Linked DNA regions of Homo sapiens: regions 1 and 2 are each linked to region 3. The links are contacts of gene promoters, found by promoter capture Hi-C in blood cells and fetal thymus (Javierre and others, 2016). All regions are on one chromosome and are shown on one strand. The core of a region is centred on a gene start or on the middle of the fragment in contact, and the rest is flanking DNA. Distances in the headings are between cores, read along the strand shown. Region 1 holds the start of RHOC (ras homolog family member C). Region 2 overlaps CAPZA1 (capping actin protein of muscle Z-line subunit alpha 1). Region 3 holds the start of NRAS (NRAS proto-oncogene, GTPase).

The links. Contacts are between HindIII fragments. The CHiCAGO score rates a contact against its expected background, and 5 or more counts as called.
Region 1: the fragment with the promoter of RHOC here is called in contact with the fragment with the promoter of NRAS in region 3 in 2 of 17 cell types (activated CD4 T cells and total B cells); the score reaches 7.0 in activated CD4 T cells.
Region 2: a contact is called between a fragment that was not itself captured here and the fragment with the promoter of NRAS in region 3, in 1 of 17 cell types (monocytes). The highest score is 5.4, in monocytes.

Annotation. Positions count from the first base shown.
Region 1 is chr1:112,705,402-112,708,845 of GRCh38, reverse strand. RHOC (ras homolog family member C) reads left to right here and starts at 1,719. Exons shown (of 6, transcript NM_175744.5): 1 at 1,719-1,768. RefSeq lists a silencer at 1,280-1,999 and an enhancer at 3,259-3,308. The HindIII fragment of the contact is 12,151 bases long and covers 1-3,444 here.
Region 2 is chr1:112,661,718-112,664,812 of GRCh38, reverse strand. All of the region lies in intron 7 of CAPZA1 (capping actin protein of muscle Z-line subunit alpha 1), which reads right to left. Among named protein-coding and RNA genes, the nearest start is that of MOV10, 11 kb to the left of the region's middle. The HindIII fragment of the contact is 2,467 bases long and covers 471-2,937 here.
Region 3 is chr1:114,714,507-114,718,020 of GRCh38, reverse strand. It overlaps NRAS (NRAS proto-oncogene, GTPase), which reads left to right and starts at 1,250. Exons shown (of 7, transcript NM_002524.5): 1 at 1,250-1,363; 2 at 1,844-1,971. The coding sequence starts at 1,861. It overlaps CSDE1 (cold shock domain containing E1), which reads left to right. Exons shown (of 20, transcript NM_001007553.3): 20 at 1-1,105. RefSeq lists enhancers at 1,245-1,444, 1,455-1,554. The HindIII fragment of the contact is 3,751 bases long and covers 1-1,788 here.

The sequences.
Region 1 (3,444 bases), core at 470-2,969, 2.0 Mb after region 3:
AAATCATTGGAGCCTGGAAAGTTGAGGCTGCAGTGAGCTGAGATCTTGCCACTGCACACTTAGGCAACAGAGACCTTGTCTCAAAAAAAAATTAAAATTAAAAAAATCTACACATCACCTTATCTTGAGAACTTCACCTGTTGTTCAGGACTGGGTATCGCACAGCCCACACATGCCCACACTACAGCAATGACCTCCGGTATTGTAACTGTCTACATTAGGAGTCAGTAGGGAGTAGGAATTAAGAACAGGGGCTCTAGAGTTCAGCTGTTTGGGTTCTAGTGTCAGACCCAGCACTAGCTCTGTAACCTCTCTGAACCTCAATTTGCTTCTCAGTAAAATGGAGATAGCTACCTCATGGGATTCTTGTAGTTAATGTATGTGGACCCAGGTCCATGTAATATGGATTCAATAAATGTTAGCTATCTTGAAATTGCATTCCTCATTTAGACTCTAAGTTGTTTGAAGGCAGAAATGGATCTTCCGAACATAGCTCTCAGTTCACCCTCGAGAAATGTTCATTGAGTCAGTTAAGAGGCCTGGGGCCAAACTGCTGCGGACCTGTTTTCACATTTGTCAAATGTCTGGATTGCACTTCAGATATTTAAAGTCTGTATGACTCCTAACATTCATTCATTCATCAAATATTTGTTGACAACCTATTATGTGCCACTCACTCTGCTAGACAACGGGGGAAGGGACAGGCTGGAGGAGCCCGTGAGGTAGCAGGGCCAGACCACCAGTTTGGAGCCAGACAGGCCCGGCTGTGTGAATTCTTGCTGTCACAAGTCAAAAACAGTTGTGTAAGCCACTTGATTTCTCTGAACCTCAGCTTCTCTATGGGCAAAAGGGGATGGGTATATTTTCCCCAGAGATCTGTGATGAATATTGAAAGGGTTAAGCTGTGTAGTGTCCCAAGCACAAGCCAATGAAATGTTGGTGGACGTCCTCATTCTACTCCCACCTCCTCAGCTCCCTTACAGGGAAAGGAGATACGCGTGTAGGTAAATATCCTATGCGCCAAGTCAGACCTAGGAGTGGGAACAGAATTCACAGCTGGGATCCAGAAGCATTTCTAGGCGCACCCTTTGAGGAGTAGGTAGGAATTGGACTCCTGGAAATTCCAGGCCCAGGGAAGAAAGCGAATTGTGAGGAGGAACGGTGGTCTGGGTCTGAACGGCTCTGAGAGGTCTTCAAGTTTGGGGGATGACGTTGGGCTGTACGATCCTAGGAACAAGAGGGTGGACATCTCCCCCCAACCAACACACCCGCGCCGGGCCCTGGGACCTCCCGGCGGATACCCTTTCCCAGTCCCGCTTCCCGCGAGGTCCCAGGTGCAGCAGGAGCGGGTGGCCGCTTGGCCACAGGAGGGCAGCAGCGGCCCTTCCTGACCCCACCCCGAGCACCTCTTAACTTTCCCGACGCCGGTCCTCCCCTAGGGGATTGAAGGCTGGGCAGAGTCTGAGTCCACCCGGGTCGTGCTCCCCCCGCTCGCCCGGCTCCTCCGCAGTCCAGGAATCTCCCCGTGGCTCTCCCCGACCTGGAGGGGTGGACGCCCCTGGCCCCCAGTCCCCGGCCTGCGGAGGGGGCCGGTGGCTGCGGCCCTGCGCGGGGCCGGGGCGGGCCGAGCCAAGGGCCGCCCCCGGCCGACCCTCCCCCTGCCGGGCCCGCCCTCCCCGCCGCGGCGCTGGAGGAGGGCGGGGCGGGGCCCTGGGGTCAGTCTGAGCCTCCGGCACCGGCCGCGCAGCTGGAGGCGGCGGAGCGGAAGGTACCCTGGGCCGGGGCTGCGGGCGGTGGGGCGTCTTGGGAACTCGTCCCCAGGAGAGCACTTTCCCTTCCTCGCTGGCCCGGAGATCGGGGCCCGTGCGAGGAGGGGCTTCGGCCTGGGCGTGGACCCCGTTCCCTCCAAGCGGAGTCGGCATCCGGGCTGGGCGGTGGTCGGACCGCGTCGGCCCCTCCCCGGGCTGCAGCGAGGGGGCCCGGACCTGCCGGCAGGGGCTCTGGCCTCCTGAGGTCCGAGTCGGAGCCCCTTCCCTTCTCCTCCCAGCTTCCCGGAACCTGCCCCGCCGGGCGAGGGGCGAGGGAACTTCAACTCAGACGCCCCAGCCCCCAGGGTGGGCGGCCGCAGGGGACCTAGAGTGGGATGGGGTGGGAATTCCTCCAGGCCAGGAGGGAGGTATGGCGGGAATAGGGGCGGGATGTGACCATTGGGGCCTGCCACTGCTCGGCAGGGTCTGGACGCCGCCCTGGACGGTTCCTGGAGCCCGCTTGTGTTGAGGATAAGGGAGATGGGGAAGGATCCAACTCTGTGTGTGTGTGTGTGTGTGTGTGTGTGTGTGTGTGTGTGTGTGTGTGTGTGTGTGTGTGTGTGTGTGTGTGTGGTGTGTGTGTGTGTGTGTGTGTGTGTGTGTGTGTAGAGAGAGAGAGAGAGAGAGAAAATGAGATTGAGAATCCTCCTTCTTCATACTCGAACCAAGAAAGAGTATCCTGGGGTTTGGGACTGGGATCCCGAGGCCGAGTCCCGCCCTCACTCTGGTTTTAAAGTTGAGAATGCAGTATCTCTTGGTATCTCCAGAACGGATTCCTTCCCTAGGTGTAGGGTGGGCCGGCAAAGTCAACCGGCCGCTCTGGATCATCTGGGAATTCAAGAGAGCGATTGGAGAGAGGTCTGATGTAGCCACACTGTCTTGTCTTGGGGAAGGCCCCAGAAGTTCCAGGCTCCATTCCAGGCCCTGTGTGGGGCTCAGTTGCCCCTCTTAAGGGGTCAGTGGGACAGTCCCTCTGGGGCTGCCTCTCACAGGGAGTTGTCCATGCCATCTTGGCCTTGGGCCTAGTGTCCTGGCCTGGGCTGCCTGCTGTTCTGGCCCAATCATAGCCTGGAGGGAAAGTCTTCTAATTGGGCTGGAGGCTCCAGGTCCCTTAACGCATGCCTCAACCCCGGGTTTCTGTCCTCTGCCTCCCACCACTCTGGTGCCGTCTGAATTACCCTGCTGGGGGGACAGCAGTGGCATACTCATGCCTAAGTGACTGGCTTTCACCCCAGTAGTGATTGCCCTCCATCAACACTGCCCACCCCAGGTTGGGGCTACCCCAGCCCATCTTTACAAAACAGGGCAAGGTGAACTAATGGAGTGGGTGGAGGAGTTGGAAGAAATCCCAGCGTCAGTCACCGGGATAGAATTCCCAAGGAACCCTCTTTTTGGAGGATGGTTTCCATTTCTGGAGGCGATCTGCCGACAGGGTGAATGCCTTCTTGCTTGTCTTCTGGGGAATCAGAGAGAGTCCGTTTTGTGGTGGGAAGAGTGTGGCTGTGTACTTTGAACTCCTGTAAATTCTCTGACTCATGTCCACAAAACCAACAGTTTTGTGAATGTGTCTGGAGGCAAGGGAAGGGCCACTCAGGATCTATGTTGAAGGGAAGAGGCCTGGGGCTGGAGTATTCGC
Region 2 (3,095 bases), core at 455-2,954, 2.1 Mb after region 3:
CAGGCACCCGCAACCACGCCCGGCTAACTTTTGTATTTTTAGTAGAGACGAGGTTTCACCATGTTGGCCAGGCTGGTCTCGAACTCCTGACCTTGTGATCCACCCACCTCGGTCTCCCAAAAGTACTGGGATTACAGTCATGAGCCACTGCGCTAGGCCACCACATTTAATCTTTACAAAAACTCTTATGAGATGAGGACTACGACTAACCCTATTTTACAGCTGAGGAAACTGAAGTTTGCCTTGAGGCAGTTATTAAACAATAACTTATCCATGTTCACACACCTAGTAAGAGGAGGAGCTAGGATTTGAATTAGGTCAAATTCCAGAGCTATCCAACATATGTAATACCTCCCAATGCTATGTTTTGTCAAAAAGTTAGAAATTCCTTGATCTGGGGAGAAATAGTGTCTCAGCAGGGGCTTACTCTTTGTGGATATCATTAGAAGGGCATAACTAACAGTCAAGCTTCATCTAGGCAGAAAGCTATTTGCAACAAAAAGACTTTCCTGGATAACAAGAACCCCCTACCTATCCTTGTTTAAAGGACAAAAATAAGTATCTTTTTTTTTTTTTTTTTTTGAGACAGTGTCACGCTCTGTCGCCCAAGCTGGAGCACAGTGGCTGATGTCGGCTCACTGCAACCTCTGCCTCCTGGGTTCAAGCAATTCTCCTGCCTCAGCCTCCCACGTAGCTGGGACTACAGGTGCGTGCCACCATGGCCAGCTAATTTTTGTATTTTTAACAGAGATGGGGTTTCACTGTGTTGCCCAGGCTGGTCTCGATCTCTTGACCTCATGATCCCCCTGCTTTGGCTTCCCAAAGTGCTGGGATTACAGGCGTGAGCCACCGTGCCCGGCAAGTATCTTCTTGAATGAGGACAAACAGCTGGCTCTATCCAGATGGGCATGAGAAGCTAGACTTTCCATACCCTCTCTAAACCCTGAAATTTTACCTTTTGGCTTTCTAAGAGGTTAAAGAAGAAAAGACAATATAAGAATCTACTGAGAACAGGCATGGTGGCTCACACATTTAATCCCAGCACTTTGGGAGGCCGAGGTGGGCAGATCACTTGAGGTCAGGAGTTCGAGACCAGCCTGACCAACATGGTGAAACCCTGTCTCTACTAAAAATACAAAAAAAATTAGGCAGGCATGGTGGCAGGTGCCTGTAATCCCAGCTACTTGGGAGGCTGAGACAGGAGAATCACTTGAAGCCAGGAGGCAGAGGCTGCAGTGAACTGAGATTGCACCACTGCACTCCAGCCTGGGTGACAGAGAGAGACTGGAATCCACTGGAGACAAGATGAGAATCCAATGGAAAAGAAGGGTGATAATAAGAACCACTAATACTTACATGTAAAATCAGAACAGCAAAGATGTGGGCAAAAAAGACTGGGCTAAATGATGATGACATATAAAGGTTAAAATCCCAATAGATAAGAATATTTAAAATACAAGTAGGTCACAATCAAATATCAGTTTTGTTTGTTTTTTCATTAAAAAAACTAGAGGTTCAGGGACTGAAAAGAACATTCAAAAGGGGAATGAGCCGGGTGCAGTGGCTCACGCCTGTAATCCCAGCACTTTGGGAGGCCAAGGTAGGCGCATCACGAGGTCAGGAGATCAAGATCATCCTGGCTAACACAGTGAAACCCGGTGTCTGCTAAAAATACAAAAAATTAGCTGGGCGTGGTGGCATGCGCCTGTACGCCCAGCTACTTGGGAGACTGAGGCAGGAGAATCGCTTGAACCCAGGAGGCGGACGTTGCAATGAGCCAAGGTCGTGTCACTGCACTCCAGCCTGGCGACAGAGCAAGACTCCATCTCAAAAAACAAAACAAAACAAAAAGGGGGCAGGGGGGAATTATTACAAACAGGATGGGAGATATTTAAAAAAACAACAACAGATCTGGCCATAGAAGAAACAAGAACTTCTGTATTTCTCAGAACTTGTCTAAAGAGAGGAGGTATGCAGAGCACATTCTTTTTGTTCGAGAATAAAGACTATACAATTAGTTTGAACTTCTGTTATGTTTTTTAATTAGGACATGGAAAGGAATATAGGGTAAGGTCAATAAGCCTCACTGTTTTTGATCTCAATGAAAAATTCTAGGGCCAGGCGCAGTGGCTCACGCCTGTAATCCCAGCATTTTGGGAAGCTGAGGGAGGCGGATCACAAGGTCAGGAGTTCGAGACCAGCCTGGCTAACACAGTGAAACCCTGTCTCTACTAAAAATACAAAAAATTAGCCAGGTATGGTGGCGGGCGCCTGTGGTACCAGCTACTCAGGAGGCTGAGGCAGGAGAATGGCATGAACCCGGGAGGTGGAGCTTGCAGTGAGCCGAGATCCTGCCACTGCACTCCATCCTGGGCAACAGAGCGAGACTCTGTCTCAAAAAAAAAAAAAAAAAAAAAGAAAAATTCTAAAAAATATTAATTTCATTACCTAATACACTAATGTTATTATAATTTTTAGAAATTAACCCAGCCTGGGCAATATAGTGAGACCCCGACTCTACAAAAAAATAAAAAAAGTTGGCCAGGTACAGTGGTATGTGCTTGTAGCACTAGGTGCTTGGGAGGATGAGGTGGGAGGATCATTTAGTTGAGGAGTTTGAGGTTGCAGTGAGCTATGAAAGCACCACTGCACTCCAGCCTAGGTGACAGAGTTGAGATACACCGTTTCAAGAAAGAAATTAAGCTCAAAACTTATGTGTTCTAAGACCTTTTCTAGGTCTCATCTGCTAATATGAAAATGGTTCAATTAACTAACACAAATTTCAACATGATTGTCATCAACATAAATCCTCAGAAATTGTTGCCTTCTCAGAACGATGTTTTTGCCTATAGACTAGCCTGAAAGGCTAAATATCTTAACGACTTTTCCAAATAATTCTCACTCCAAAATTTAAAAGATATGTAAATGAAATAAGCTTTCCCCAAAAGTGTGCTCAATCTGTGCTTAAAAAGGTTTAAATGTGGGTCTGTACACTGGGCTGTATTTTGAATCTTACCATAAATTATCACCCTTTGTGATGTGTGCTCTTATTTTATAGGTTTGCACTGGCAGAGCTAAAATACAAATGGCTGTTT
Region 3 (3,514 bases), core at 1-2,500:
GTTATGTTTAAAAAAATAAATAAATTTAAGAAAACCATTTTAAATAATGCACAGTTGCAGCCTGGAAAAACTTAAGGTGGCGCCTTATAGTATCAATTTTAGGAGCTTTATTTGGTGCATTTAACGCAACTGGTAATTGCAGAATCCACTTTGCCTGTGTAAGTGAAAAATATAGACTGTTATCTTGTTGGCCCTATGAAATTCTGCACTTTTCATTATATACTCTACCTTCATTAATTACTTCTGGCAAGATGTTCTGCCTTAGCACTCAGTTGCATTCTTTTCCTTTTTCTTCCTGTTCATTATGCTTTAATTCTGAGGACCATATGAGGGTAGAATATATTATCTTTTAAAAATTACAAAAATTTGTATAGGCAAACCATTTCTTAAAGTTGATGGCCAAATTTTAAAATGTTATTTTTCATATCATTTATAATCTTGTCACAATCCACTTAAAGAAGTTTGGTTATATTTCAGTGAAAATTTTCTTCCAGAGTAGGTTTTTTTTCGTGGGTTGGGGGGTAACTTTACTACAATTAGTAAGTATGGTGCAGAATTTCATGCAAATGAGGAGTGCCAGCAGTGTGATAATTTAAACATATTTAAACAAAAACAAAAAAAATGAATGCACAAACTTGCTGCTGCTTAGATCACTGCAGCTTCTAGGACCCGGTTTCTTTTACTGATTTAAAAACAAAACAAAAAAAAATAAAAAAGTTGTGCCTGAAATGAATCTTGTTTTTTTTTATAAGTAGCCGCCTGGTTACTGTGTCCTGTAAAATACAGACACTTGACCCTTGGTGTAGCTTCTGTTCAACTTTATATCACGGGAATGGATGGGTCTGATTTCTTGGCCCTCTTCTTGAATTGGCCATATACAGGGTCCCTGGCCAGTGGACTGAAGGCTTTGTCTAAGATGACAAGGGTCAGCTCAGGGGATGTGGGGGAGGGCGGTTTTATCTTCCCCCTTGTCGTTTGAGGTTTTGATCTCTGGGTAAAGAGGCCGTTTATCTTTGTAAACACGAAACATTTTTGCTTTCTCCAGTTTTCTGTTAATGGCGAAAGAATGGAAGCGAATAAAGTTTTACTGATTTTTGAGACACTAGCACCTAGCGCTTTCATTATTGAAACGTCCCGTGTGGGAGGGGCGGGTCTGGGTGCGGCCTGCCGCATGACTCGTGGTTCGGAGGCCCACGTGGCCGGGGCGGGGACTCAGGCGCCTGGGGCGCCGACTGATTACGTAGCGGGCGGGGCCGGAAGTGCCGCTCCTTGGTGGGGGCTGTTCATGGCGGTTCCGGGGTCTCCAACATTTTTCCCGGCTGTGGTCCTAAATCTGTCCAAAGCAGAGGCAGTGGAGCTTGAGGTAAGTTTATCTCATGCATAGTGTTCGGCTTTGGGCTGTGGAATGTTCAGGCGTTTCACTGATGCCAGAAATGGAGCAGAATCTATCAGCTGGAGACAAAGGCCTTGGGCGGGGGTCCTTCCATTTGGTGCCTACGTGGGGAGATCTTTGGAGACAGAAGGGAGAATGGGAAGGAGTTGCGGCCTGGAGGCTTCCTGCTAGAGCTGAGAAGCCTTCGGGGAGTAATAGGAAGGGGGATTTCCATTGCTTAGGCTGAGGGCGGGGCCCAAGGACTGTTGAAAAATAGCTAAGGATGGGGGTTGCTAGAAAACTACTCCAGAAGTGTGAGGCCGATATTAATCCGGTGTTTTTGCGTTCTCTAGTCACTTTAAGAACCAAATGGAAGGTCACACTAGGGTTTTCATTTCCATTGATTATAGAAAGCTTTAAAGTACTGTAGATGTGGCTCGCCAATTAACCCTGATTACTGGTTTCCAACAGGTTCTTGCTGGTGTGAAATGACTGAGTACAAACTGGTGGTGGTTGGAGCAGGTGGTGTTGGGAAAAGCGCACTGACAATCCAGCTAATCCAGAACCACTTTGTAGATGAATATGATCCCACCATAGAGGTGAGGCCCAGTGGTAGCCCGCTGACCTGATCCTGTCTCTCACTTGTCGGATCATCTTTACCCATATTCTGTATTAAAGGAATAAGAGGAGAGAAAGTAAAAAGTTATTTTGGGTATACATTCAGTTATGCAATAAGCTTAACGTGTTTATAGAGAACAGTTCATTTTTATTAGCTGCTGAAGTTTCTAAAACCTGTCCAGTTTTTAACAGTTCTGTAAACTATTGCAAACTCAGTGTTGAGTTCATTCATGAGTTTCTTCATATATAACAGCTCTATTACATGAGAAACACAGGCCATAGTAGCGAGACTGTCTGATTGTATGGGAGATAATAGGATGGAGATAAAGGATTCAGAGATGAGTGTTCTTCAATATTTATTTATTAGCTAGTTGAAGCAGCTGAGACCAGATGATTGGAGTAGCAAGAACTTGAGATTTTTAGTCTTTATGCCTAGGATTTTGGTCCCTGTTTGCAGTTTATTTAGTTGTGTGATATTGAGCAACTGAATCTCTCCCAACCTCATTTTCCTCATGTTTTAAATTACCATAAACTTGTCCTGCCTACCACACAGGGATGTTATGGAAAGTTAAATAATATATTTAAGTTATTTATGAATGGTAAAGCACTATGTAATAGTACTTAGGGATTCTATTGTTATTATGAGAGTTCATGGTACAGATTGTCTTCAGTAAGTGGCACCTAAGGCTCTTTAAATAAAGGGTTTTGCCGGACACGGTGGCTCACGCCTGTAATCCCAGCACTTTGGGAGGCTGAGGCAGGCGGATCACAAGGTCAGGAGTTCAAGACCAGCCTGATCAACATGGTGAAACCCCGTCTCTACTAAAAATACAAAAATTAGCTGGGTGTGGTGGCAGGCACCTGTAATCCCAGCTACTCAGGAGGCTGAGGCAGGAGAATCGCTTGAACCAGAGGCAGAGGGTGCAGTGAGCCGAGATCACACCACAGACCTCCAGCCTGGGCAACAGAGCGAGACTTCGTCTCAAAAAATAAATAAATAGATAAATAAATAAAGGGTTTTGTAATTTTGTTCAGTTTAGAAATGCCTAACTTTAGAGATTATTTTAATCAACACCTGGCCTCCCTACCATCTGGCTACTCGTGTTTAATTGATGAAAACTAACTCTAATGTAGCCACTATAAAAAATTGGTTGCTAACCCTTGGCAAAATCTTTATTTTGAGCTTAACAGCTTTAATATTTTACATGAAATGTTTAATATTTTAATTAAATATTTTTAAATGTTTGATTTATTGAGCAATTTACATAAGTAAAATACATAAATTTTATGTCTACAGCCCAGTGCTTTTTGCGTTTCTATATAGTCATGTAGCTACCACCCAGATAACAGTATAGAGCACTTCCAGTACTCCAGAGAGTTCTCCAAGTGTGATGACATTAAAATACAAGTAAAAGTCCTGTTGCCATAAAACCAAAATGAAAGTATTTTTTATATGATCTATGCATGTTTGTCTTCCTGAGAAATTAAACATAACTATACCTTGTTTGGAACCTTTAAGAATTT